2 separate regions of the Homo sapiens genome follow, and region 1 is linked to region 2. The links are contacts of gene promoters, found by promoter capture Hi-C in human tissues and cell types (Jung and others, 2019). All regions are on one chromosome and are shown on one strand. The core of a region is centred on a gene start or on the middle of the fragment in contact, and the rest is flanking DNA. Distances in the headings are between cores, read along the strand shown. Region 1 overlaps LRP1B (LDL receptor related protein 1B). Region 2 holds the start of LRP1B (LDL receptor related protein 1B).

What was found. Contacts are between HindIII fragments. The study calls those that stand out against the background at their distance.
Region 1: a contact is called between a fragment that was not itself captured here and the fragment with the promoter of LRP1B in region 2, in 2 of the 25 tissues and cell types used here (H1 embryonic stem cells and hippocampus).

The regions. Positions count from the first base shown.
Region 1 is chr2:142,047,870-142,051,404 of GRCh38, forward strand. The region is part of intron 1 of LRP1B (LDL receptor related protein 1B); the gene reads right to left. Among named protein-coding and RNA genes, the nearest start is that of LRP1B, 81 kb to the right of the region's middle. The HindIII fragment of the contact is 3,706 bases long and covers 1-3,527 here.
Region 2 is chr2:142,129,652-142,132,777 of GRCh38, forward strand. LRP1B (LDL receptor related protein 1B) reads right to left here and starts at 1,365. Exons shown (of 91, transcript NM_018557.3): 1 at 997-1,365. The coding sequence starts at 1,078. RefSeq lists an enhancer at 1,233-2,432. The HindIII fragment of the contact is 3,160 bases long and covers 285-3,126 here.

The DNA of each region.
Region 1 (3,535 bases), core at 425-2,924, 81 kb before region 2:
GACCAGCACTGGATTATGACTGGACAATAAATAAATAAACCTTTTTTATGCCAAACTACTGAAATTCTGGGATTTTGTGTTCCAGTAGTTTTTCTACTCTGAATAATCTAAGGCCTATGCATAAGTATGAGCGTATTACCGTCTATTACTAACATAGTGGTCAAAATCCAGACTTTCCACTGTGCCACTATTCTACTATATCATAAGTGACCATTTTTTCTGTTGTTGCTTAAATTTTCTAAGGTTTTCCAGATTTGCTGAAGCACCTCTGCATTCGTCTTACAAAAGTAGGCAGCATCTGCAAAGTTTTGTCTTTTAGTTTTTTTCTGCCTTGTTGAGGAAAGGGATTTGGAAATGGAATTATAAATGTCCATTTATTTCTAGGCATTGCAGGTATGCCATCTTGTACATACTTACTTTTCTGGTGGAAAAAGTAAAGCTTTTGGAGGTTAACTAACATGGCCAACATCACAGCTAATAATTGGCACAGTAGGGATTCCCCTCATAAGTTTTGACTTGCACATAATGGACTGATCTTTACTTAGCCTACTTTTGCAGTTTCAGCAACTGCCATCAAAAGTTATTTTCTGAACATTCTTCTTAAAAGAAAGAGTGAAACTCTTTCTACTATGGACATGAATTTCAAACACCCTAAGTATTTAGCAAATAGGCTTTTTTGTCCATTTGTAAAATATTTTGTCACAAAGATACAGAATAGAAATTTGAAGTGTTTATTTACACTTGCTACTAGTCTAAAGCTTATGTCATTGCTACTTGTAGTGTATGTAAAAATTGCATTTTATAGCAAATATTGCTATCGTGGAAAGTCTTTTATAACATTCTTCATTTCCAAGGCAAATAATGTGACACTGACATCAATGAAAGAGAACCTTATGGTCTAAGTTGAATAACTATTGGGCAATGAAAATTGCATACTTAAAAGATGAGTGTATTTACAATGGACTAATAAAGAGAAGATTCATGTCTTTATTAAAAACTTAGAAGCATAAATTATCAGGCCTGAAAAGTACTTGTTTAAAAATAAAATGTTTAATTTAACTGACTAATTCCCCTTCTACTAAAATGTAGAAATACTTTAGGATGGGAATAATTTGTTTAAATCAATAGTTTCTAAATGTCTCAAAGCATTGGACAATTTTAACTGCATTTTAACTGTTATTTGATTAAAGATCATTTTCATTAAATGTATGAAGCTACTATATTCAAGAACTCCAGAAAGAAAGTTGATTACTAAAAAAAGGCCCCTTTTTTTCTAACAAAAAGTGTTAGTACTAAGTGCATGAACAATCAATCCAGAGAAGACAGATGGTCAACAAAGCATTTCACAGAAAACCTTGTACTTTCCATATGTTGTTATATGCAATGCATGAAGTTTTCTGCTAGCACAGAGATTAAAAAATAAAAGCACACATCATATTTGTCTGAATTTTTCTTTTCTTTCCACTACTCTTATATCTTGCTTACATCCACTCAGCCTAATATAGCTTTATTGCAACTTTTATAAAGGTATGAAGAAAGCTTGATATACATCACATAAGGACATATTCAGAGTTAAGACAAAAGACAATGGCAATAAGAGTGTCAAATACTATATGAACTATATGGTATCAGATTACATTAACATGAAAGTATGTGCCAATACTGCGTTCTCCTTGAGGTATTACAGTGTTTGGCTATGTCTGTGGTAGCCCTTCTGCTGACATAGTCTTTCTTCCTTCTTTTAATTATAATGCCTCACGATTCCCATGACTGCCCAATTGTCTTTAAAAGGTTTCATCCACTGCTCTGAAGAAGCTCTCTGCCTACCCATTCAATTTACAGCAAGTATTTGAAAGAGTGGCAGATGCACAGGCAACAGCCATTTATTGAAACACTGATTCCATTTAAGATGGTCTAAAACCCATTCTATCTTCCATCAGGTATAAGTAATGGCAACTTTTCCTTATTCTTTATGAGTACAAAGATGAAAATACAGAGATAGAGGATTGTTGGATTCTTCCTCTTGTGGATAAATTACTTTACAGAGTAAAAGTAAATAAGCACTTCTATCGCATGGCCACCAATGCTAAGCTTTATGACCGAGGAAATCAGAAGCTCTAAAGGTAAAAACTTACATAGTCTGTGAGGAGTAGGTACTCTGCTTTTCAATTTGGACACTAAGCTTTCAAATTAGTTGCTTGAATAGCATGCTTATGCTTATCAATGTCCTGTTAATTTTTTCCTGTTGAATTACATAATTAAGTATTCTCTTTCTATGTGCATATATGTAATACATAGGTATACACACACAGAGAGAAATTTCATATATAGTCATATGCATATAATATACATATTTTATATGGCAATTGCCTTTAAAATTGTAATAAATGTGGCACTTCTCGCCAGTTTCAAGTAACAAAATAAATCTTAAAGCTATAACAAGTATATTATCATTTGAAACCTTAATAATTCTAATCTAGTTATACAATCTTACCTTCTAGCTTGTGTGTAAGCCATAAAAGTTACTGAAAACAATAGGAAAACATTGTTTTGACAGGTGCCATTATACAATAAATGTTCTTCTATTTTTGTACAATAGATTACAATTGCCATTCTGAATAAGTGTTAGGGTGAAATATCAAGACATCACATATCCTACAATTCAATTTTTGTTATTAAAAAATCCCTCTGTGCCAATATAAAATGATTGGTTATTTTATTTCTCTTAGTAACTTACCTTAAAGAGAATATTTAAAATGATTCATTTAGCTGAATTACTTGATACCAATTTTTATCAACTGGCAGAAAATCTATTGAACGAGTAGCTTATATGAAGTAAAACTCCCACCTATGCCCAACACAACCAATATATATTGAGGATACTACCACAAAGATTCTTCACCTTTTGCTTTGAGGTAGCCATCTCCCCATAAACTCCTTTCCCAACTAAATTTATATATAGGAAATTAGGATACCTCCAAACATTCTACCTCATTCATATTAAATATTTTTTCTCCATCATGTGTGAGTCTACCAGACAAATAAATATGTGACAAGAAAATATCACCAGGAAAAAGAGCAATATTAATATTAAAGTTACAGTCCTGAGAAATATAATGTGAAGAAAGTATCAGCAAACACATAATGGGGGTGGGAAAGAGGCAGAAAAATGTAAGATTGAGAGAAGACGTTAAGTTCAGCTTCTAAGAATAAGACCATGAAAGAGGATATGAACATTTGAAGAGAGTATGGCCAGTAAAGTAGAGGAGTGTGAGGCAGTAACTTCCAAAGAGTCCAAGTAGTGCCTTTCTAACAGGCACATTGTTGGTGAGGGGGTGGGGAAAGGACATTCACGTAGGAGGTTGCTGGAATTATAAACTGAGACAATATTTAGAGAGCTATTTGGTAAGACTTAGTACATTTTAAATGTGGAATCTCTGTAACCTAGTAATTTTAGTTTTAGGAATATAGAGTACAAAAATACACAATCAAAGGTATATCCATATACCTTTGTAGGATGTTCACCACAATCAGC
Region 2 (3,126 bases), core at 115-2,614:
ACTATACCAGTCAATATAAGCTCATTTTCTGATTTTAAAAAAATCTATGATACTTCTGATTTTACTTTAACCAGTTAACCATTCCAAGGCCAGGGCCAGTGCCCCAAATATTCATCTAGTATTTTCCTCCCTTTTTCACCAGTGCATCTGTTGTCAAAGATTATTAAACTCGCACAGGGATTCTTGATTTTCCAGATGAAAAGTTTATAGAATCCCGGCTTTTTCTAATTCCTACCTCCTTTCTCCTCTGCTCCCCATATCCATTCCCTTCTAAACTTCTACCATTCACCAGCTGCTTGGAGAAAAAGGAAAAGCAAAGCGCCAGACTGGAGAGAGGCACTCCAGGGGTGGGTTAGCCCCTCAGAGCACCTGGGCTGTGTCACAGACCCTCATAATCGAAAAGTCAATTTCAAGCAGGTGCGTGCGCCCGGAATCGTCCTAAAAGCCTCTCTGCTGATGACAGGACTCTGACCCCAGTCTGCCCCCAGGAAGGGGCTATAGAAACGAAAGGGGCCTGAATCGGCGCTTTCGCCGCTCCACGGACCTCGAATGCAGCAGGTAAGGAAGTTAACCTGGGAGCTAAGTTGAGGGCGGACACGCTTAACGCGGAGAACCTGGAGCTCGCAAAAGCTCGCAGTTGAGGGCCATCGCGGAGGGAAGTCTTTCGGAAATGCGAATTCTCATTCCAACATCTGCAGCGCTTAGAATTCGCGGACAGAAGCGCACAGCCAAGTGCACACACTCCCGGAGGGGACAAAATGGGGACCGGGAAACGGCCAAAGGGAAAAGCTGTGGGGGTGCCGAGGACTCAGGCACTTGGTTCAGAAATCCCGCACCGCACCTCTCACCCCCGCACAGGGCCAGCGCACGGTGGTCACCCGGTCCCGGGGAGCGGAGCTGCAAGGACTTAAGTTTCACACTCACTTATCTGCAAGCATCGCCCAGCAGGAAAGCCAAGGAAGTCAGGGGAGGGGAGCGGGGAGGTGTTCTCCTTACCTCGGTCGGCTCCCACGGTCAGCACCCTGGCAATCGGCAATAATCCCGAGAGAGTGAGTAAGGCGAGGAGAAACTCGGACATTGTGGTCGCCCGGTAAGGAAGCCTGCGCTGGAGACTGCTCGGCGGCACCTTCGGCCCGGCGGCGGCGGCGGCGGCAGGGGCCGCTTGGAGCCTGGAATCGAGCGGCGTCATTTACAAATGTCACTGGAAATTCTTCAGCTCAATGAGTCCAGCCAGTCAGCCTTCTCCTGCCTGGAGCAGGATGTGGAAGGTGGAGGGATGCGCGCGTGCGGGAGAGAGGAGGCAGAGCGTGTGTGAGCGCGAGCGAGACGCCCGTGTGTCTTGACTTTTCAATGCAGGGTACGTCTGATCTTACATCACGCAAGAGGGGCAGTGAGAGATGCCAGCGGATGGGAATTCACTGATTAATCACCGAATCCACCACACACCCCTTCGTCGTTCACATAAATCACATCTATTACTTAATAAGAGGCATTTAACACAACAGGAAAATACCACCGCGAACGGAGAGCGCCACAAATCACAATTATTTTAATCCCCTTGAAGGGAAAGTAACTCGAAGCTGGTTCTGTGGGGATTTGGGTCTTTGGAGAAGGGAGAGACTTCTGCATTGGCCTGAGCCAGCCAGGCGCCTACAATGCTCCGCAGTTCACAGCCAGCTGAGAACCCTCAGCCGAGCACAGGGCTGCTTCTGCAGGCAAAACAAAGCTTCTCCCTTCGTTCCTCGGAAGCTTCCTTCCCGGGAAGGAAGGACAAGCCAAGGAACAGAGCTTCTCTTAGGGAAATGGTTTCCTCGGCTCTACACAGAATCCCAGTACTTCCTGAATTGCACTTTTAACTTTTATGCTGAGCAGCACCTGGGGACAAAGAGGCAAAATTTAGTGACTCAGCAGAAACAGAAAGCAAAACAACCCCCAAAGTCATTAACCGTTGCGTAAGAAGGGAAGGTTAATGGAAAAGGCTATTGAGGTCCCCAGGCAGGGAACAATAAAGCAACGAATTGGCAGCGTTTTTCTCTGGGGTTCTGTCTTTAAAAGGGTACTTCGAGCCATTTTAAACAGGCTTTGAGGGTTTTGTTGTTTTTGTTTTGTGTTTTGTTTTGTTTTCCTTTTCCATATACTACAGGGGCGGTGTAAGAACTTTCCCGAGCCATCGGAGGCATCAACGGGAATCACTGGAATAATAATATTAGTAAAGTTGTTTTTATGACCACTTAAGTTTACAACATGATCATCCCAGTCCCTAAAATTTTAGTTTGCCATTACAAAGTGGCTACGGAATTAAAACTCAGAAATCTTAATAGTTGTAGACTTACTTTCTTCCTTGTAACATCAGGAATTCTCTTCTAAGAACAAGAGTTGAAAAGGTTTTATATTTAATATTTTGAAACTGGACATGAGTGGAGAGGAAAACTATGAGAAGGGAACAGAACTAAGGAAGAGAACGATTGAAAAGTGAAGGAAGATGCTTTAAAAGCTTTATTTACTTTGCTGTTTGAGACTTATAAGTGAATGCCAGCATTACTATCTACCTATTTATGAGAGTAAAATTATCCAGAAATATCTTTAGATGCTCCTTTGAAGCCATTAAAAACTGGACTAGATGAAAGAACACAGAGATGACTTTGCAGAACATTGTCAATAATCTGTGGATTTCACCTTTTTATTCTTACTCTGTGATTATAAATGTATTTTATGTCACTTTTTCCATGTTTTAAATTATAAAGTTTACTTTCCCTTGAAAATACAACCATTTTGTGTTTGAAATATGACTCCTACATTCAAAAGTGTATGCTTAATTTTTTTTTTTTTTTTTGAGACGGAGTCTCTCTCTGTTGCCCAGGCTGGATTGCAGTGGCGCGATCTCGGCCCACTGCAAGCTCCACCTCCCGGGTTCACGCCATTCTCCTGCCTCAGCCTCCGGAGTAGCTAGGACTACAGGCGCCCACGACCATGCCCGGCTAATTTTTTTGTACTTTTAGTAGAGAAGTGTATGCTTCTTTTCTTCTAAAGTTGTTACATGTCTAATTTTTCCTAGATGTTTTTATTATTTCATAATATAGTGTACAATATAGAATAAAAAGATTTTTTTACATATTTTACTTCATA